Regions from separate parts of the Homo sapiens genome. Here regions 2, 3, 4, 5, 6 and 7 are each linked to region 1. Evidence: promoter capture Hi-C in 16 types of primary human blood cells and fetal thymus (Javierre and others, 2016). All regions are on one chromosome and are shown on one strand. Each heading gives the region's core, a stretch centred on a gene start or on the middle of the fragment in contact. The rest is flanking DNA. Distances are from core to core; before and after follow the strand shown.

Region 1 (3,101 bases), core at 420-2,919:
ACCCCACCTTACCCCCAAAATAACAAAAACTGGCAATGGCAGGAAGGGAAAAGCAAAATGGCCATCCTCTCTGAGTCATCTTTGACCCCCTGCCCTCCTCTCCAATGGCATCCAATGCCTTTCCCCTGACATAAACCTTATTCTACTTATATAATAGATACAGTTCTCTGGGCAAAGCATACCAGTTCACATCCAGTATCCGTTTGTTTATGCCACTCTCTTTGCCTGGAATGTTACCATGTTAAAGTACCCTCTTCAATCAAGTTGTTCTCAAAGGTCCCAAGATCCAAATTCTACACTCCTTATCTTATTAGATTTCTGTCAAATTTTAACACTTTACTATTTATTGGCTTGTATTTGTATCTCTCCTACAGCTTAAAGCTCCTTGAAACAGAGATTTTATTTTTTGTTTTTGTATCTCAAGTGTTCGGTATGTAATATAAACATACAAGAAGTGTATATTGGTGCTTGGAAGAATCTGCAGATTCTAGACATGGGTGGAGGTCCAGGATCCCTTAAGAAACTGATAAAAACTTCCGATGCAGTGCCCAAGGAACTTCACATAGGAATTCCTGAAGGGCAATCATGAATCCCTAGAGAATCCATTCCCTCTAGTTTTAGAACCCCGCTTTTAAACCAAAGTATAGTCCAGAGGAATACTCAAGCACATGCCCGCGCCCCCCGCCCCACACCTCTGTAATTCTAAGTTTTCAAGTCACTTTTGAATACCGTAATATAAATGCATACGTTTTGGTTTTTTCTCTCCCCAAAGCAACAGGCTCACTAGTTCGACTGAATAAATCTTCTTAAAAACAACAAAATCCCGCTAAACTAATGGCATTTTCATAATCCCCAGATCAGGTCCAAGAGAAGAGAAAATGGGGAAATTACCAGAGCGAAATCCAACAACAAAAAAGGTCCTTCATGTTTTACAAATAGAACGGTTGTACTAATGCTTCGTATGCTATCTTCTATGGAATGAGAATCTACTCAAGCACTGCAAACCAGATTTTTATCGTCAAATGAGAAAGCATCATCCGTAAGGGGATAAATGAAACGTTGAATGCCAAACAGAACTGGGCCTACTAGGTCTCCAGATCCCTGGTCTTTTCCTACCCCTACACCAGGGTTCTGGAGCAAGAATCTCCACTCCCTCCGCCCACACCTGAACTTCATCTTTAAGTTTTCTTCTCTATCTATGAAAGGGACCCTGTATAGATCTTTACCAGAGCGGTACTGGCCTTGAGGGACGGATCGCGACTCTAGAAATCCAGGGGGCTAAGCTCTGGGGGGCAATGCGACCTTTGCCATTTGCCCCTTTCTGCTGCGTCGTCAGCACATCCACCTGCTTTACTTCCCGTGCACAAAAGAAGGAACAGGCAAAGAGATCGGTACCTCTCAGAATAGCGAAGGAGCTCCGCATCAAGCTGTTCTCGAATGCCGGTGCGTTTCCTGTTAAGGTAGCGGGGCGACAGCGCGATGTGCCTTTGGTGCGGCCCGGCCACCAGGCATGAGTAGCGACTGTTCACCAGCGCACAAGCAGCGGCATAAGTCGGCAACTCTAGGCAAGGCAGGACGCCAGCCTGCCCTACCAGAGACCCATCAGAAGCCGCCGCTGGCCGCGGCGCCTCTGAGCAACCTGCAGCCATGCTGCTTGTCAAGGTTCCCACGGCGCGCGCCGTTGACGCAAGCACAATCCCATGTCCCCGGCGCTCGTTTTACGCCATCCACCAACGACCACGCCCCTAGGAATTTCCCCTCTTTTCGCTGCATTACGCAGCCCTGACCAGCAGGGGGAACCGCGTTTTCGCGCTTCGAGAACGGGAGCTTAGAGCCTCGGAAATGCATTGAGCACGCAGGAAAGCCAACCGACTGCTCTTTTAAGGGCAGGCAAATGTGTGTTTTCGCACAGAGGCTTATTGGATTAAGTAGGTAGCTTAAAAATGGGGGTTCTCACTTTGATCATTTCCAGTAGTGAGGTGGGTTTGGTAGAATTTTACAGGCTTGGACTGTACAATAAAAAATCAAAATATTTATGGAGTATATTTTATGCAGTACACGGAATCCTAAGCAGGCCTGATAATTGTAATGCAACGCATCTGAAAACGAACCCACTAGTTCTCTCCTGTCCCGCTTCTCTTCTCATTATGCAACTGCTAAATCAGGGAATCATACAGCCAAGCTGTCAGCCTCGGATCCTCTTTTGTATCCCCAAGTATCAAATCAGCCTGAAGACCTGTATTGCCCAAAGTGGAAATATCATTCTATTTGGACACTATTCTCTTTCCCTGCCGCCAAAACCGCAGGACTCCCTGCCTGTGGAAGCCTAGCTCAATGGTCAGGAGGACACTCTGGGGCAGCCAGATCTTCCCTGAAATACATATGATCGTGTTGTGCCCTGTTTAAGCCCTACATAGGCACCCCATTTTCTCTAGGACAACACAAACTCATGAAAATGGCTTATAAGTTACAAGGCCATTTTGTGATCTGCGTGGGCACACAGCCTCTCTCTTCAGCTTCATTTGTCACACTCCCCACCCTAATATTATCATGCTGCTTGATCTACTTTCAGGTCTCTCTTTGTGCAGTCTCACGCTGTTCCTTCCACCAGGGAATATAATAGCATTTTTCACAAGGGTAAATTCTACTCATGTATGAATTTCTAGCTTAGATTTTACATTCTATACCTTTGCAAAGAGTTTTCAAGCACCCCACTCCTCTTTCTCTATAAGGATTAGGTAGTTACCCATCTATGTTGGTTTTTATGTTAATTTTTTATTAACTGTCTTTGCTTGCCTGTTCCATCAATAGATTCCTACACTCACTAAAGTGGGGACCATAATATCTGTATTGTTCACTACAGTAGCCCCCCACAATTTATCCCTCCTCCAAAGAAACGAAACCAAGAAAAACCCAACCAATACATCTTGAATGAATAACCTGATAGTGAGTTAATAAATAATAAGTGATAAAGAGCTCACAGCCTAAGTGGAAGTGGGATCTAAACATAAACATATAACAGGTTATGCTGGATAAGTGCCAAGAGAAATGTATAGCAGTGATGTGAGTATTAACATACTCCCTCATCTCCTAAATACTGC
Region 2 (3,101 bases), core at 209-2,708, 990 kb after region 1:
TGTCTCATATTTAAGTAACACAGCCTATTTTATGATTTTACTGAAATTTTTGTTTTGTTTTTATCTTATTTACTTCTTTTCTATCTTGACAACACTATTTAAATGATACCATTTTAAATCTTTTATTGTGTATTTTCCCAGAGGCAAAAGAACATCTTTAAATTACCTATGTAATGTAGATCGTTCTATAGGAGGAAGATAGCCCTCCTAATTTCCTGGCTCTGTAATTTACTGGTGTCCTGGCACATGTTAAACCTTAATCTCCTTACCAAATAAGGTAATTTTGTAATGCACTTAGTTTCATGCTCAGTGCCTGATAGTTAGCGTGCAACTTTTTAAATTTTTGTACATTCTTTTGAACAGTGACCTAGCTGAAATGTTGTGCCCTTTTTGATGATGAGCTTTAGAAAACTTCAGCAGGAAAAATGATGGATACAATCAAATTATTAAGTAATCCAATATAAATGTGGGTTAGCCACCCTGAAAATGGACTTTAAAGGCATCAGAATTTCAAAGTTCTGTTGTCCAAACAACAGTCCGCATTATAGTGGCCACACTGAGAATAGAACGAGAATTATAAACTATTTTATAGTCTTACTTGAAGAATTCTCTGGTTATTAGGTCCATAAATGTCATTATTTTAAGAGTGAATGCCATGAGGAAGTTTTAATGAATGAAATACCAAAGAATTCACTGTCTACTTTCCTACTCAGAATAATTACTCACCACAAAGCTGTTCAGAAGAATTTTTAAGATTCTGAAATACACTACTTATTGCAGACAAGAGCCAAGAGAGATCGTTATCGTATTATTTATCCTCTGACCACTGTGACCACTACCTCCCCTTGTCACCTTCCACGTCTCCTAGGAAGGGCTGGCAGACCCAGAATGACTACTTGCATTGTGCTTTCTCTGTATAAAACCTGAAATTTTGTGTAACATAATCCTTCCTCTGTAATAACATCAGAAACAGCAATGACTGCTAGCATTTATTGGGTGTTTATTGTTTGCAAATACAGTGAGTTGCAAATGTACTGAATAAAGCTTAATTGTATAAACAATCCTACAAGATAGGAACTGATACCACTCCCCTTGGAAAAATGAGGAGACAGTCTTGGTGAGTTTAAATAATGTGCTCGGATATTGCAATATTTTGCTTGTAAATAAGAACTCCAAAACAAGCCAAGGTATTAGGAAAATGTTTTTGTAAATACATCTTGAAACTTTCCAACTTTCAAGTTTGAGATCGTAATGAAACTTTTACCTTCCACATTTTCTTTTCTTAGCTTCTGCCTAGATTTTTTTCTTATCCTGTAGTACAATATTCCATCCAGTTTAACAAGAGTAAAGAAAAATACACCTGCCATTTCTTTTGTGACCCTTAACAATTACATGTGAGTTAACTGTACTTTTTAAATAATAGCAACTGAGTGAAATGCCAAAAAGTGATATTGCACAAATAGTCACTTGTGGCAAATCTTCTTTTATTTTATGCTTTAGGGTCATCGTTAATAATACGGGCAGTGAATTTTTTAAGAAAAATATTTTCTACCCTGCTGTCTGTTATGTTTGATGTTATACATTATAATTCTGTTTATGATGGGCTAACTTCACTAGATTCTGTTATGCACACAAACTGGCATTTTTAACCAACATATTTTATTTTTAGATAAGTCTTCCTGAAGTCTCTCTATTAAAAATTTTAAAGTTAAACAAGCCTGAATGGCCTTTTGTGGTTCTGGGGACATTGGCTTCTGTTCTAAATGGAACTGTTCATCCAGTATTTTCCATCATCTTTGCAAAAATTATAACCGTAAGTAAAATAAATTTGCTAATACTTTCAGCAATTTAAAGAAAGTATGACCTGAGAGAACAAGCTTGTATCAGTCTAAACCACAAGGGGAAAATTGGGACTTTTAGTGGGCCGCCCCTAGTGTGGAGTCCGTGATAGGAAGGTTAATTAATGTTCCCAGGAGATAAGCCAGCATCTCTTGTAAAGTGTGTGGCCGGGCCTTGTTGACTGGGCAATCAGTGAAGAAATTGCTTTGTTTTCTAATTTTTACTCCAGTGCTGGATCAGCATTCCAAAACACTGAAGAAATAAAATAGGCAAATACAACTACTTTCCTTTCAATTAGTGGGTATAGTTGCAATTTCTTTTCTTACCAGCCAGCTCAGGGAGAAGAAATAACAAGAGTCTGGGATTTTGCTAAAGGACTCAGGGCAATTGGTGTGTTTAAGGATCTTACAAGATCCATGCTTACTCTTCAATGTTAACTAAAGTTCTAGCCTGGAACTTCAGTCTCCCTAATTTGCACAGCTATACTTTATCAGTATAAATGCCTGTGTATGTATGTTACTAATTTTTAAGAAAAATTCTGGGGGCACATTAAAAAGCCTCACCTTGCAGGTACTACTTAACTAGAAGACTACTAAGAAACTTGAGTGATCAAAAATTATTCAAAATAATAATTCAAGCAAACTGGTGGTTTCTTGGGAAATATACTGTGATAATAATAGCAGATAGATGACTCATTATTCAGATCTCATATTTACATAGTTTGAGAATTAAAAGCAAGTTATTTTTTATCATAGATAATGTATGCAGATGATAGCATCATGGTGCACTTTTTCCCACAGAAATGTGTGTATAGTTTTATTTTTATGTTGAAATTTATTTTAAGCTGGGTGCAATGGCTCACGCCTGTAATCCCAGCACTTTGGGAGGCGGAGGCAGCCGGATCACTTGAGGTCAAGAGCTTGAGACCAGCCTGCCCAGTATAGTGAAACCCCATCTCTATTAAAAACATAAAAATTAGCCGGGTGTGGTGGTGCGCGCCTGTAATCCCAGCTACTCGGGAGGCTGAGGCATGAGAATCACTTGAACCTGGGAGGCAGAGGTTGCATTGAGCCAAGACTGAGATCGCAACACTGCACTCCAGCCTGGGCGACAGAGCAAGATTCTGTCTCATAAAAGAAAAAAAAAAAAGAAATGTATTTTAAAACTCCTGATATACAGAAATTTTCACTTTTTCTGTTTCTTTTATATTTTCCCCCAAACACCTGATAAAAATCTGTTCCTTTTCAGATGTTTGGAAATAA
Region 3 (3,101 bases), core at 1-2,500, 940 kb after region 1:
GCTGTGTACTTCTTTATGAATGGAACCTATGGACTTGCTTTTTGGTATGGAACCTCCTTGATTCTTAATGGAGAACCTGGATATACCATCGGGACTGTTCTTGCTGTAAGTCTTGTTTGAGAACAAGGTGTCAGGCCTGGATAATCTTTCCTTACCTAGTTTAGCCAAAATTCCTCTTTGAAGATAAATATTCAAAGATGGATGTTTTTATTAAACAAATATTTGTTTCCCTCAAATTATCTGTATACACCTTTAAATTATAGTTATGAATTGACAGCATTTATTCATCCAGCATGTTTTAGTGTCCTCGCTGTGTCAAGCATCTGCATTCCGCTTTTGGAAGAATCATAATTGAATTCCCCACTGGGAAATACACTGAGTTTTGTTAATCTAGCAGTGAAAAAGGCCATTCTCTTGTGAGACTTTTCCTTTCATCTGGGCTGAGATCAGACGGAGTTCTGCATTCACCTTGCTAAATGTCTTCTCTCTGGAAATGGTCTGTAGAGTTTACACTCACCTCCTCTTCCTCTGTCCTTTCAGCATGTAGTAATTTAAAAAACAGACTACATATAGCTCTGTCCAGTATCACAGTTTGGAGACTTTTAAATTCTTATGGGTTATGTGTTAAATAATAATTTATTCAGTTATCCTCTTAAGTTACAATAAACAGATCAGTTCAGGATTAAGAAACATTTGTCTTGAGGAACCAAAATGATCTGCTCTTTATACTTTGATCCTTGTTTGGCCTTTCCATTCTTACAGATTTCTCTTCTTTCCATTAAATTCATCTTTTGAATTTGAGGCATTCATAATTAAGACTTTTAGCTATTCATTTATTTCATATAAAGTGAAATGTGAGCATGAACGATTTTTCACTCATCCTTGCTCCTCAATTTATGTGTGGCTGGGTATCTGGCTTACTAAGCCTAAGCATCCTCATCTATATGATAGGAGTAAGAGCTCCTAGCTTGAGGGATTCTTTTCTTATTTGACTTTTTGCAGAGATGAGTCTGTCTTAAAATGGACAGCTGTCCCCTAATACAAAAATTCAAAAACGGTTTGAGTGAAAACAGTACAATGTCTCTGAGCCAATAAAATCTACTGAATTTTTCTTTTTAAAGTTCAAGGGGTCACCCAACAAGGAGGGGAGTGCAACTCACCATGGGGTTTATACATGGTCAGCACACTTCAGTTAGCAGATTTTTCTGGTCACACATCCCAGCATGTGATAACCACAAGACTATGAGATAATCAAAAGTTGTTCCTTATTAGGAAAAGGCCAAGGATACTTGGATTAATCTGTGTTTCTATTGCTTCTCGGCCTTTTGGCTAAGATCAAGTGTAATCTGTGTTCTTTTTTATTTGGTCATATCTTCCATTCTTTCTTACCTAATTCCTCTAATATCTCTCTGTGAGCCTAAACCAATAATTATATATTACATTCTATTGTCTTTCTTATATAACTGCAGAAAGATAAATATCACTTTGTTTGTTCCTGTAGGTTTTCTTTAGTGTAATCCATAGCAGTTATTGCATTGGAGCAGCAGTCCCTCACTTTGAAACCTTCGCAATAGCCCGAGGAGCTGCCTTTCATATTTTCCAGGTTATTGATAAGGTAAGACCTCTTATTGCTTTGAAGAATAACTATCATTACTGCAAGAAGGAGACAAAAAAACATACACCCTCATTTTCACTAAAACAATAGGATGGACAAATTTAATGTTGGCCAGTTGTTTATGGGAAAGAGAGACTGCCTTTAATTCTTTTCTAAGAGGAGATTGTGTTGTATTGAAACCTTCATGTCTAACTCAATGCACTTCTAAAGCAGAAAGGAAACTGTCATGGAAGAAAACCATCCTTATACTATTTTTAAAATGTAGAGACTGTCAGTTTACTCCTTTGAAGATTTATAACATTTCCTTTGTTTTTCCAAGAAACCCAGTATAGATAACTTTTCCACAGCTGGATATAAACCTGAATCCATAGAAGGAACTGTGGAATTTAAAAATGTTTCTTTCAATTATCCATCAAGACCATCTATCAAGGTAGGTTAAAACAAATTACGCAATTGTGCAGTTTTCTGATATTATCTTCTACTGGCCAAGATCTTCTCTGACATGATTACTTAGGATCACTTTTTTCCAAGATTTTGGCTACTTTGCTTAGAGACTTGAGGAGGTAGATAAATAATGGACAAATAACTCTGGATCAACTAGTTATATTTTGCAGCATTCTTTCTATATTCAACTGACTAAAGCATTTTCAGCTCCGTGAAATTCTTCTACTCTGGGTTTGGGAACACACCTAAATGTCTTGGGTTGACGCTGCCACCTGTTGGTGGTTCCTAGATGCTACCCCACTCAACATACTCATTTTAACCCCCTCCTCTCTAACCTAGGAGAATTATGCACATGTGCCTTTCCCTTCTTCCTTTCCTGGGGCTTTTACTGCAGCAGCAATTGCGGCTAGTACTTTATCGCCTTTACACACACGCACACACACACGCAGTTTATCGTACTCCATCATTCAGTCTTTGACAAGTTCTTGTGAAAATGTGTGTCTTTTTTATTGTCTTCCCCCTTTCACTTCATTAGTGTATTTACCAAAAAAGTAGTTGTTGTTAAAGATTGCACAAGGCGATTACTAATAAAACACTGGCTTCATAGAAAAAGACATGATTTTAAGTGAAATAGATAAAATTACTAGTGTGATCAATTTCTAATGTCTGCTACAGAATTTGTATAAAGACCTACCTACTCCTACTTCCTTATTTTTTTTCTGATTAAAACTTTGATCGAAATTCTCTTTTCAAAGCTCTTTAGTTTTGAAAGTTGTTACTTAATTACCGATTACCATTATTGGTATAGTATTGACTTCCACCATTTTTCTTAACTGTACAGTATTTCAAACTACATTTTGCAACTGTATTTGGATTGGCTTCCTAGGGACTTCAGCACCAATTGTGCCATTATATTGCATGGGAAAGTGTTCTTTGGGTTTTAAACAACTATTTTTAAAATGAACTTTTGAAACATAACCCTTTTTGTTAAACTAAAGAATGAAATTTTGGGGGGGTCCACCTATTTTAAATAAATAAATTC
Region 4 (3,101 bases), core at 436-2,935, 890 kb after region 1:
ATTGATTCTTCTCTGTCTCCCACAGTGATGAGAATAGACATGATGGAGAGCATATGAGGACATAAGCCCTTTTACCACAGAATTTACATTCTAGAAGGAGTGACAGATGTTACGCAATTACATAAGTATGAAATATAAATGAAAAGGGATAAATGCTGTGATGCAGAAGCTCCTGGTTCTATGAGAGTGTATTGTAAAGAAACTGATGCACACAGAGAGACAAGTAAGGGGAGAAAAGGGGGAGGAAGAGGGGATGGAGACAGAGAACAACTCAGGCGAGAGCCTGAAGCAGGAGGCGCGTGATGAGTTCAGGGAACTGAAAGAAGAAAATGGCATAGCACCAGGATGCTTGGACCTGTGGCCCTAGATGACCTGGGGGGCCCTTGTCCTGAGAACAATGAAGGGCCATTCACAAGGTTTAAGTCTCCAGATATTTTAATTCCTTCCATTCAGGAGCATGTCTTCCTCAACGAGAGATAGCCATGTCAGGGTAGCCCAGTCATTTTTTTGTGTTCACCTTACTGGTCTTCTGCTATAGTTTGTTACCTGGACACTGTAGCGGCTGTCCACTTTCTGTAGTGTATGTGTTCTCCCTAATACGACTCTTCCTTTCTCCTGGATCTATACACCGCTGACACTTCATCTTCCTAAAGTGCAATTTGCATCACATCACTCTCCTCAGAAACTTTCAGAGGCAAATTCAGGATGGAAGGTAAATTCAAGCACTCCTCTGTTTTTTCTGTTCCTATACCATCTGTCACCCTCACCAGCAGCTCTACTCTTCCCAGAATGAATCTTCTACTTCACCCAAATTGAGTATTTTTTCCCACCATCACACAAATGCTCATGGCATGCCTCCTTCTTGAAATGATCTTGCTTTCTTCCTACCCTAGTCTTAATCATCCATTAGAACAGCACCTGAGTCCCACATCTCTAGAAGCTTCCACAGCCAGTGCAGTTTACATTTATTTCTCTCTCTGGATCTGAGAGCTCTTGTTACCTCTGTTCTTCATATTTGTAAGTGGTCATAAATGAATGCACACTCTTGTGATATTCTGTAACTGTTTAGATAGGTTTATCGTGCTTCTATCAAGGACACAAGTTTTTTCTTATCAGAAGCCACATGTTCTATATTACTCATAGCTCTTAGTTGAAGGGTAAACTTCAGGGAAGAGGACAGCAGTCATTCAAGGATCTACACATAAACACTGTAGAATGAGCCATTCTATTTCATGAGCAACAATGACATCTAGTGGCTGACAGGTTGCATAGCTTCTTCTGACTTTAATAATCGGACAAGGCATTCAGAAAGAGAATATTACAGAATAATTAATGAACCCAAGTTATTCCCACCAACTACACTGCTTATGAAGGTATTTCAAATATGGATTTATGTGTTCTGGCTGCCCAAATGCTTCCCCCATCCTCCTGTGGTCCAACGACCCACAAACTACTGGTAAGAGGTCCCTGCCTGTGCTCCTTGCAAACCGCAACTTCCCTTTCCCGTAGGAAGATCACCAGAAATTTTCATGGAGATTATGCGATTTTCAACTTTCTGCTTCCTGTGAAGATAGAGGTTTATGTGGATAAATATTTATTTTGGAAAGAAAGTATGTAATTGAGTAGGAAACTTGAGATGATAAATATGATAACCAGAGTAGAAACGCACTTGAAAGCCAAATGAGAGAAAGTCAGTGTGGCGTAGAGGAAGTCTGTGGGCTTTGGCTTCTGAGGGACTTGGGATCGGATGCCAGGTCTTCCCATAAAGTCACGTGATCGTTATGACAGACTGACGTCTCTGGGGCGCCATCTTCGCATCCCAAACATTGAAGGCGACATATATACAGCCTACCGGGCAGCTTTGGGGAGGATTCGATACAATCCTATATAGTAAGATTTCGGCCTGGAGTAGGTAGCCCATAAATAATAGCTATTCCTATGGTTTTACATTTTACTGGAAATAATTGTCCTCCTCTTTCCAATTTGATATTTTTTAAAACCAAAAACCTGTTTTTTTATCTGAAATTGTCAATAACTCATTCTGATCTTCATTTAAATTACCTCGTTGCTTCTGATTTCAGATGTTTATGCTGGAAAATAATGAGGTTGAGGAAAATATCTCAAATCTCTGAAAATGACCCAGGAATTCTAATCTGCCATAGACCTCAAAATCTGAATAATAATGAAGGGTGTAGAAGAACTGGAGCAGACTATAATTATTGTTATATATAGCAGTTGAAAAAGTAACCCTTTTAACTCAAGGAACCTGGCTTTGTGGAGGGAGAAAACAGGCCTAGGAATAAATATGTAAACAAATTATCGCAAGAAAATATTGTGAAGTCCTGATTTGTGTGGCCTCCCTGTGGGCAGCACGGGAATCCACAATCACCCTTATAAAATGTTTCCTTAGAAAACATCATCTTGGCCTTCTAAGCTTTACCTGAACCTAAGGTAAAGGAAGAGCTTGTTTCAAAAGTTTACTTTTTTGCTTATTATTTGGAATGTAGCAAACATTTTTCTTATATTAAGTATTATTATATACAATGGTTTATTTCACAGCCAATCCCACAGATTAATGCCAAAGACAGGCTTCAATTACATAACTCCACAAATAGGACTGGTATAGGTAGCAAAAATGGACAGTGATGTTACTTTGGGAATACAGAATAATAGAATTCCTGGGCTGGAAGAAATTTGAGATCTCCATTCTAAATTCTAAGTGAGTAGATAAAAAACACACCTTCTCCCAGTTTCAGCTCTGATGTGGGAGCAAATAATCCTCTCCCCACTTAAGACAAATTCAACCTTCTTCCTCTCCTTCTCAGTATTGTAACAGAAACCACAGGAGGGTGGGGGAAAGATGGACAGGAAACCTGCCTCTAATTCTCACTCTTCCATTGTCGGTGGGCAGGGGGCCATTAGGAGCGTTAGTCATCCCAAAATCTCAAGGGCGAAAACAACCCGGATCTATTTCATGCTCACGTTAATGACCATTGAAGTTTGGCTGCATCTCTATTCTAATAATTCTTCCTTCTGGGATTCAGGCTGAAGAAGTAGCTACTAATAAGGACATGCTATTCTGATGGCAGAGGGAAAAAAAT
Region 5 (3,101 bases), core at 382-2,881, 870 kb after region 1:
AAAGATCTTTTTTCCTCAAGTATGTTCTCTCAGTGGCTTATATGGAAAGCCCTCTTTCTCTCAGTTCATCTGCATTCCTCCATTTTTGTTATTGTTCAAATTGCTCTTTCGCAATGCTTTTTCCACCTCCATGGCAAATAATTAGAATGTGACAGTGATGCTGCCAGATCTCCATAGTTCTAATGAGCCCTGCTAAACACACTCAAGTGCCACTTGTCTCCCTGTCGAGGTCTACCTTCTCTGCAGGCCAGAGCTCAGCACAGTGTCAAAGAAAACCTGTTGGTGATTGCCTACTTCTCTCTTGGAATCTCCTGTTCCTTCATTCTAACCTTCGATCACCATGCAGAGATGTAAAATCTGGGCTGCCATGTATACCCTTTCTCATTCAGCTTCTCCCAGGTCTCGCCAAAAATAAATAAATAAATAAACTTACCTGTTCTGTGTTCTTTTTCATCAGTGCCCTCATCTGACCTGGTATTGGTCATCTAGTCTTGCAAACCAGTTGTGCTCTTCAGCTAATAGAAACTCATGGCTTAATTTTTCACCCTTCCAAGAAACAAAAAAAAAAATGTTAATTTTGGGCCAAGCTTAGCACCTTGACACATCCTTGAAATGACTTTAAGTCTTTGATAACACGTGATTTCTTTTTCCCTTTTTTCCTTTGCTGTAGGTATCTTAATAAGTGCGTGTGTATGTGTGTGTGCGTGCATGCGTGCACGTGCATGCATACACACAGAGCATTGCAACCTCCTACACCCATTAACAATAGGTGGTATCTTCTTTAGGAAGGCAACAGTGTCAATCTCAGGTAATTGGAAGAGGGTGGCATGAGATGGGCCTCTCAATAAGAAATCTTGTGACATACCTTAATAAGGGTGTCTTCCCCCAAAATACTTGCATTATCTATGGCTTAGTTCAACCCTAAATACAAATTTATTCATGAGTCCATGCTATGAACATACTTATACATAAGAGATATTTCACAAATGCTGTTTGTTGGGGATGAATATTCACAAATGCTGTTTTGGGGGGATGAATATTTACTATCAGCCCTTGACTTTTTAAAAAATTAAGAAATTAACATAAAAGGATAAAGAGAAGATTTTCAAATGCCTTAGGGCTAGATGTTGTGAGATTCTCTTTCCACAGTATTTTCTTAATGCTGTCTTAATGCCAGATTTCAAAATGAATCATCCAAGAAAACTAAAAAGACCCTGTAACCTATTTTTCAATCAAAGTCAACAGAAGCATAACTTTCCTGAATATTTCATGTATCCACCAAAACAGAAAATGGCTGCAATTTCTCTAAAAGTTAGGCTATTCTCTGAACATATCCCCTCAATCTTTCCCATTTAGAAGTTGTCCACACTAAATATGAGTTCACTCTTTGAGTATGAACTTATAGTTAACATGTTCAAATTGATTGTGCTCACTCTGGTTGCTGGCTTTTCTTAGAAACGTCTTCTATTGACTTGTTTTCTACTTTCAGAGATGTGGCAAATTTCAGGAAGCCTATATTATAAAAATTGAATTGGAATAAAGTGAAAAAATAAATCAGCGACTCAAAGGGTTGTTTCAGCTATTAAACCAGACACTTTAGGTCTTCTGTGCCATTCACCATAAAGTCACCTTCTAAGTTAATCAAGTTGATTAAGAAGTTGATAATGACTAAGCCGTCAGTAAAGTTCATCTTATATTTTCACAAACATCCAAATTTTTCACTTATAAAACAAGAAATAACAGATTATTTTTCTACAAAAAGAGTTACAGAAACAACACAGACATGTCATGAACAAAAGACATTAATGAGATTTCTTTTGTAGAAATTGGCAGCTGGGAGGGAAAAGTGGATAGGAAGGCATGAGCCAATAATAATATTGAACTGCAGTCAACCAGTTAACTAGTTAACCGGGCTTGCAATCTGATATCCTAGGTTGCAAGAATGTTTCTTACAGTATCCCCCCGAAAATCACACATCCTTAAATATTTTCATTTTTAAGGAGATTAAAGCACTTTTTGAATCAATATTCTACAAATCCTAAAATGTGCCATCATTTTGATGACTATAACAGAGTTTCCCTAAGATATATATTGTCTTGCTCTCTGGAAGCCTCTCTCTACCTCAAGATTTCCTTTCTTTTCTTCTTTGAGACCCGTATCATGAGGCTCTGAACAGTCATGCTCCATTCTCTGGGTCAGCCCCAAGCTACTGAGACCTTACCTCTGACAAGAGTTCACATATTGGTAGTGACTTGCACTGCAGCTATTTTTTTTTTTTAATCCTTGACAGGTAATGTATGGGAAATATCTTTGGACTGAAAGTCAGCTGTCTTGAGAGTAATATGCACTACACCACTTATTCACTGTTTGATTCTGGGCAAATCACTGAACTTCACATATCTTCATAAGTGTTTAATGAGAATAACACTTTGCACAAAATCCAGTAAGTAATTATTTAGGGGCCATTAAAACCAGACATGATCTTGGAGGCTGCACTCCTCTAAACGAGACCTTGTCTCTGCCCTTGAGAGGTTCAGGGTTTAGAAGGAGAGACCGGCATTTGAATTGGCAAGGAGAATACGGAGCAATAAGTGCCAAGCAGGGGGAGGCCCCAGTGACCTTCCTGGAAAAATGAACATTTCTCAGCATTACTGATAAAAGATATCCCTGGCACTGAAGCTTGTAGCAAAACAGATACAAAGATACGTCAGTTAACATAAAGTCAAAATGTACGCAAGGCCAAAAAGTAAGATGAAAATGGTTTGATTATGGCTGCTAGAAGGGTATCCTAGATACATAGCTGCATTTGAATCAATAAAAATGTATTCAAAATTGTGTGAGTGTGTGAGTGTTCAGTTTTGGAGCTAGAGTCCTTAACTTTTATAAAATTATAAAAAAAAAAAGTGAATGACCCCGAAATGCTAGGAATCAATGCTTTCTAAGGTAGATACACTTTCTAGGAATTATAAATGAAATGCTTGGGTGAAAGTGTATGTTTGCGTGTGTGTATGTGTGTATAAATATATGCACAAGTCATCTTCTGCCACCAATTTACATGCTCCAAAAAATGTTCATGTTTCTGTACTTACTATTATGAGACG
Region 6 (3,101 bases), core at 377-2,876, 840 kb after region 1:
ATATCCAGGCCATCACCAATAATTCTAAATGACAAATGTTTCTTCTAACAGTCCCACAATATCACCCCTTGCCACAAAATCTTCCTTCAATTTAATCTCTCCCACTCTAGGTTCCCACACCGCCCCAATCCCGCTGGAAGCAGCCCTGAGAAACATCGCCCATTATCTCTCCATACCACCCCAAAAATTTTCGCCGTCCCAACACTTTACCACTATTTCATTTTATTTTTCTTATGAGTATAAGAAGACAGGAATGTCAGGCCTCTGAGCCCAAGCTAAGCCATCATATCCCCTGTGACCTGCACATACACATCCAGATGGCCGGTTCCTGCCTTAACTGATGACATTCCACCACAAAAGAAATGAAAATGGCCTGTTCCTGCCTTAACTGATGACATTATCTTGAGAAATTCCTTCTCCTGGCTCTTCCTGGCTCAAAAGCTCCCCTACTGAGCACCTTGTGACCCCCACTCATGCCCACCAGAGAACAACCCCCCTTTGACTATAATTTTCCTTTACCTACCCAAATCTGATAAAACGGCCCTACCCCTATCTCCCTTCGCTGACTCTCTTTTCGGACTCAGCCCGCCTGCACCCAGGTGAAATAAACAGCCTTGTTGCTCACACAAAGCCTGTTTGGTGGTCTCTTCACACGGATGCCAGTGAAAATAGCCACTTCCTTGAACAGAAGACTTGTGGAACAGGAAATTCTACCAGCTTTCAGAAAAAATTGACAATATTTGACTTTGTAAATGCATAAATACAATGTTTAATTAATTCTTTTAATCAAGTTAGAACATTCTAGTCAAACAAACATGACTCTAAAGTGTGACCTAATTACAATGCTACTGAGATGAACATAGCTCTATAAGTGCCAAATATTGAAAATCTCAGTTTCTTATTTATTTGCTTGGATAAAATTTTTATTTCTATTTAAACTTTCAGAATTTCAGTCACTAAAAAACTTATTCATATATAAAATGAAATCTCTTGTGTTACTAAAAAAGAGTATATCTACTGATTACCTCGCAACTATATTATACTACATGTAAGCTATACAACTTTATAAAGCATATATGCCCAGTAAGTATTTATATCTAAGGAATTTTCCATTGCAATTGCTATTGCACTTTAAAATTGCATACATATTTAAAAGCTTTTCTACTAATTCAAAATTTAAAAGGTAATTTTTAAAGAGGTATCTAGGCCCTCCCCTAAAAAAATTGTGTGTGTAATTTATCAGTTTTTAAAAATTTAATAAGAAATTTGTTCTTATATATTTCTGACTTAAATAGATTTTTTCTTGCATTTAAATATCACTTTTTTAAAAAAACTAATAGTTGGGAATTATGCAAACAACATTTATAACCATTTACTACACCTGTGTGGCTATATAAAGAAGTTTTCTATTCATTTTGTGTTATTACATTATATATATTTTTATTAAACTCATTTTGTTGTTAAGAAAAGTACCTTTAGCTAAGTTACAGATAAAGATAGCAATTTAATTGGGCTTGGCAAATAATGAAATATAATGTTCATCCTGTAGATAAGAAATTTTAAATAAAGTAAAACAGCAAAATGTCAAAACCAAACCAAATGGTGATACCTCATTTCTGCATTATATTCCCATAAATAATGTGGGAAAGAGAAGAAATGTAATACAGTACATAAATCTTAATCCTTGGCTCATTCTTAGCTTTATCTTTTAGCATAATTAGGCCAAGTTTTAATTTTTTTAAAAATCTTTCTTAAATTGTATTATCTGCTGATGCTGTTACCAGCAATTCTCTTTCGTGTCAAAATAAAACATACTGTATTGGATAAAGCATCCCAAAGCCATACCACCTCACAACAGCCCAATCTACACCCTTCCTGCCCAACTCATCCAACCACTCACATCTTTAATTGTGATATTTGATCCCCAAGTCAAAGTTATAAAAAGAATGGTCAATTAGAAAAAAAATCTAAATCTCTTTGGGTTAGAGTCTTTGAAAACATGCCAACAGCTACTGGACACTTCTAGTTTTTACACACAATAGAAAACCATTACAGATCCAATAAAAGTCAGAGACATCCTTTATTTTCTGTTGTTTAAAAGCTTTACTGCATCTCTTATGAAGGGAACAGCTACCTTTAACATTAATTTGATGTCTATTTGCATGGAGCAGAATTGAGGGCACTTACTGAGAAGAATGAACCATAAGTGCTACATTCTCTGGTTGTATCACAGGCCAGGCACGGTGGCACAGACCTGTCATCCCAACACTTTGGGAGGCCGAGGTGGGTGGATCACGAGGTCAAGAGATCGAGACCATCCTGGGCAACGTGGTGAAACCCCATCTCTACTAAAAATAGAAAAATTAGCTGGGCGTGGTGGCACGTGCCTGTAGTCCCAGCTACTCTGGGGGCTGAGGCAGGAGAATCGTTTGAACCTGGGAGGCAGAGGTTGTGGTGAGCCAAGATCATGCCACTGCACTCCAGCCTGGTGACAGAGTGAGAATCCGTCTCAAAAAAAAAAAAAAAAAAAAAGCATAAGGAGTAGGAGCTGACTTCACTACAAACTAGAGTAGCTTACAAGCAAACAATATAAATAAAACAAGGTGAGTTCCCTGCTTCCCGAACTGCTTAAGCTGCACTGACCAGTTCTTTTCACCAAAAGTACCTGCCATTTTGAGTAAACTCATGTCAACTATTTGTTTTCTGACTCATAAAAAAAAATAATTTCTAATCTAGATTATTATGCTTCTACTGTGTATTTTTCTACAGATTGAAGATCTTTATATTTTGTTTCCAAAAGTATAATATCATAAATGTTGACAACTTTTCTAGGTCACCATTTAGGGAGGGAAAATACAGTGAAAGATGTTCTACTGCTTTTGGACTCCAAAACAGCTTAAGTTTGTATTAATTCCATCAAAGTATTCATCAGCGTTATGTACCAGAATCTGACAACTTGCTTTTGAATTCCAACTCTAATATGGGAAAGATATCAAAAGAGAGATCTTAACCTTTCCCAGTCTCTTTTACGTCATTCATACATAATACTTAGCTCACACTGTTGTGAGGATGAAATTCAAGATAATGTATTACTTTTGCTC
Region 7 (3,101 bases), core at 365-2,864, 800 kb after region 1:
TGTTTAAGAGGAACATCTTCAGATTTTCTTTTAGCATTTTTTTTTTTTTTTTTTTTTTTTTTTTTTTGAGACAGGATCTTACCCTGCCGCCTGGGCTGGAGTGCAGTGGTGCGATCTTGGCTCACTGCAAACTCCACCTCCCAGGTTCAAGCGATCCTCCTGCTTCAGCCTCCCGAGTAGCTGGGGTTACGCCTGGTGGCACATGCCCAGCTAATTTTTGTATTTTTAGTAGAGACAGGGTTTCACCATGTTGGCCAGGCTGGTCTCTAACTCCTGACCTCAAGTGATCTGCCCACCTCGGCCTCCCAAAATGCTGGGATTACAGGTGTGAGCCACCACACCTGGTCTCTTTTAGCATCTTAAATTATGGAGAAATGAAAAGGGCACCAAGAAAATAAATAAAAATATGGATTCTGTAAGAAAGGGGTACTGAAGTTTTGGTTTTGTTTTCTTTCTTTTTTTTAATCTTGCAAATAGAAGACCACTATATTAATGCCTGCAAGTTGATGAAAGATAGTGCCCAGTGAATATCTGCCAAAAATTGAAAAGGAATTTGGCTTAATTTGCAACAATAGGATAATGTAGGTTGAATACACCTAAAAAAGAACACCATATCGACTACAACAGTAATTAAGTAGTTCACCTAGGCAAGGCTGTGGCCTTTTTTACCTTCAGGGAAATTTAAATGAGAGTGTCTACTTAGATAAGTCAGGCTTTTACACGTCTCAGGCAATAGGGGAACCAAGTGACCCCATAAAGTCTCTTCCAGCCCTTGGATTGATTATCCATTAAGAGTAAATTTGAAATCACAAACTGAACACCGAAAAATTATAAGCAACTTTTAACTAGAATGCACATTTAGATTTTAATTGAGCCATACTGAAATCATGGTTCTGGCTGATAAAAGTATCTCAAAAAATAAATTTTAAAAAGATTAGTAGAAAACAAATATATATGGGCACATTTAGCCCCAAGCTGCCAGTCCAAGTTGTAATAATAGTATAAAAATTAGTCTGTGGTATAACAAGCAAATGGTTGTAGACAGAACTGGGCAGTATTTTTAGACATAAACCCCAAGAGAATTAATTAAGCTTTGAAAAACATAATTGAACTAGGTATTTTTATAAACATACTAGAACATCTGATGCATACACACGTGAATGTGCAAAATAGCTAATTATATACACTGTTTATAAGTCTGTCTCAGCAATAAAGCAGAGATTCCTCTATTTGTGGCCCAGTGAAAAAATTTGTTGCTTCTTATCCTTTTGTTTTGGTCAACATTTTAATTGTTCAGTAGCACTTATGGCATGAAACACCGAGGGGAAAAATAAAAGCTGTAAAACTCATATTCATTAGATCTCACTTATAATTTTGGACTTGTTTTGCGAACTTCACAAACTATTTATGAACATGATATATAAAATTTTTTTAAGTGTTTCGAAAATGTAAGGGCTTTAACCAAAAGAAACTCCTGAAATATTATTTCCCTTACTTAATAATTTAAAAGTGGCTGAAAAATGAGAAGTGGTCCACATTTTCACTTTCTTATGAGAAGCCAGCCCTTCTCATTTGCTAGACATTCACAACTACATATTCACTTAGACTGAAGGTAGGATATAATTAATTCCTACATTTTTTAATGTATCCATTCCTTCTACTAGACTATGTACTTTTATGAAGAGGACTGTATCTCTATATTCAGTGTCTGGCACATAGTAGGTATTCAATAAAGGCCAAGAGGATATTGAAAAAATGATTGAACACATCCCCTTGGAAATGAAGTACATCAAAATACAAGTATTTTCAGTGCAATTCTCCCTAACACTATTTCTTGAAAGGCCAAATGGTGAATGGGGTAAGATGGGGTCTGGCCTATGCGAAGAATGAGTCATTAAATGGCCTTGCAGATAAGGACAGAAATGCAAGTTTTCAAAGGACTCCTTAGAGCTTCCATCATGAAACAAGGTCACAGGAAGCAAGGGATAATTGATAACATCTAAAACCTAGAACATAGGGTTTTGGGGTAAGATATGAGATAGCGGGTGATATGTTTGGATAAATAGAGTATTAGAAAGAGTTCAGATAGTTCATACTTTAAAGAACTTATTATACAAAACTAAAGAGTGAACAAAGAGAAGCTTAAGGTACAATCAGTATTATTGAGCAACAAAGTGATATAAATCTTATCTTCGTAGGTGGCCCAGAAAACAGATAGTTTTGAAGATTAAAAAAAAAAAGGGAGAGAAAGACCACAGAAAATTGCATTAGTGGAGTTTTCAGACCTGACCCAGTGGAATAAAAATGAGGAGAAAATGTTGAAGTGAGGTTAATGAAATATTTTGTAGTTAAGAGTTGAAAAGATATGATGGCTGGTTAGATACAGAATGAGAGAGAATTTAAGTTTAAAATGAACATTTTTGGTTTGGGAAACTAGATAGGTGGTGATCTGTTAAAAATATGAGAAGTTTAACAGGTGTGATTTTAGGAGAGGACGGAAAAAGGCACTTGGAATGTGGATCTGGAGCCAAAGAGAAGGCTGGGAAAAAAGGACTGGGAAAAAAGACCGAGAAGTCATTAGCATGTGTGGGGTGTAAGTGTGTGTGTGTGTGCGCGTTGGAAGTGGAAGCCATGGAGTGGATGAAACTTGCAGCCCTCCCTTTCTTCAGCTGATTTGTAGGTACAAATATTCTTCTGGAGTAGGTGAGGCATGGGGATATTTGGTGGTAAGAGATGAATCGGAATGGCTTTTTTCCCCAAAGGTCCTCTGCTACCTACTAGATCTGGAGGTACATAACACAATGATGAAGAATTCAGAAAGTCACAATAAGAACAACTAAAGTACATTTAATCACAGCCCTGCCCTTGAAAATACCCACCTGGCAAGCATAATGCTATACTGTGACTTTACAAGAAGTAATCATTCAATCTATCCTTGTAACAGCCAGGAAATGAGTAAGATGTTAAATACAAGTCACATCTTTTGTTAAAAATCTCCTGTATACATAGAACACTACAGAAATATATACCACACCAGAAAAAAGTTCAAAATTATTTTTCTCCCATGCTAGTTTATATGTAGTTTTGATAGTAAGTTAAAA

Evidence for each region. The method cuts DNA at HindIII sites, captures the fragments that hold promoters and counts their contacts. A CHiCAGO score of 5 or more calls a contact.
Region 2: a contact is called between a fragment that was not itself captured here and the fragment with the promoter of POLR1F in region 1, in 1 of 17 cell types (megakaryocytes). The highest score is 5.7, in megakaryocytes.
Region 3: a contact is called between a fragment that was not itself captured here and the fragment with the promoter of POLR1F in region 1, in 6 of 17 cell types (M2 macrophages, M0 macrophages, M1 macrophages and 3 more). The highest score is 20.6, in M2 macrophages.
Region 4: a fragment that was not itself captured here is called in contact with the fragment with the promoter of POLR1F in region 1 in 17 of 17 cell types (naive CD8 T cells, total B cells, non-activated CD4 T cells and 14 more); the score reaches 103.7 in naive CD8 T cells.
Region 5: a fragment that was not itself captured here is called in contact with the fragment with the promoter of POLR1F in region 1 in 9 of 17 cell types (naive CD4 T cells, total CD4 T cells, activated CD4 T cells and 6 more); the score reaches 9.1 in naive CD4 T cells.
Region 6: a contact is called between a fragment that was not itself captured here and the fragment with the promoter of POLR1F in region 1, in 1 of 17 cell types (monocytes). The highest score is 5.0, in monocytes.
Region 7: a contact is called between a fragment that was not itself captured here and the fragment with the promoter of POLR1F in region 1, in 1 of 17 cell types (monocytes). The highest score is 9.4, in monocytes.

What each region holds. Positions count from the first base shown.
Region 1 is chr7:19,707,368-19,710,468 of GRCh38, forward strand. POLR1F (RNA polymerase I subunit F) reads right to left here and starts at 1,670. Exons shown (of 4, transcript NM_001002926.2): 1 at 1,396-1,670. The coding sequence starts at 1,649. RefSeq lists enhancers at 794-1,398, 1,363-1,432, 1,399-2,001, 1,543-1,822. The HindIII fragment of the contact is 8,345 bases long and covers 1-3,101 here.
Region 2 is chr7:20,696,738-20,699,838 of GRCh38, forward strand. ABCB5 (ATP binding cassette subfamily B member 5) reads left to right here. Exons shown (of 28, transcript NM_001163941.2): 17 at 1,670-1,813; 18 at 3,088-3,101. Among named protein-coding and RNA genes, the nearest start is that of ABCB5, 83 kb to the left of the region's middle. The HindIII fragment of the contact is 833 bases long and covers 1,043-1,875 here.
Region 3 is chr7:20,646,034-20,649,134 of GRCh38, forward strand. ABCB5 (ATP binding cassette subfamily B member 5) reads left to right here. Exons shown (of 28, transcript NM_001163941.2): 9 at 1-105; 10 at 1,502-1,615; 11 at 1,935-2,045. Among named protein-coding and RNA genes, the nearest start is that of ABCB5, 32 kb to the left of the region's middle. The HindIII fragment of the contact is 8,939 bases long and covers 1-3,101 here.
Region 4 is chr7:20,597,475-20,600,575 of GRCh38, forward strand. No RefSeq gene overlaps it. Among named protein-coding and RNA genes, the nearest start is that of ABCB5, 17 kb to the right of the region's middle. The HindIII fragment of the contact is 1,494 bases long and covers 939-2,432 here.
Region 5 is chr7:20,578,348-20,581,448 of GRCh38, forward strand. No RefSeq gene overlaps it. Among named protein-coding and RNA genes, the nearest start is that of ABCB5, 36 kb to the right of the region's middle. The HindIII fragment of the contact is 2,092 bases long and covers 586-2,677 here.
Region 6 is chr7:20,551,034-20,554,134 of GRCh38, forward strand. No RefSeq gene overlaps it. Among named protein-coding and RNA genes, the nearest start is that of ABCB5, 63 kb to the right of the region's middle. The HindIII fragment of the contact is 945 bases long and covers 1,155-2,099 here.
Region 7 is chr7:20,504,451-20,507,551 of GRCh38, forward strand. No RefSeq gene overlaps it. Among named protein-coding and RNA genes, the nearest start is that of ABCB5, 110 kb to the right of the region's middle. The HindIII fragment of the contact is 1,050 bases long and covers 1,090-2,139 here.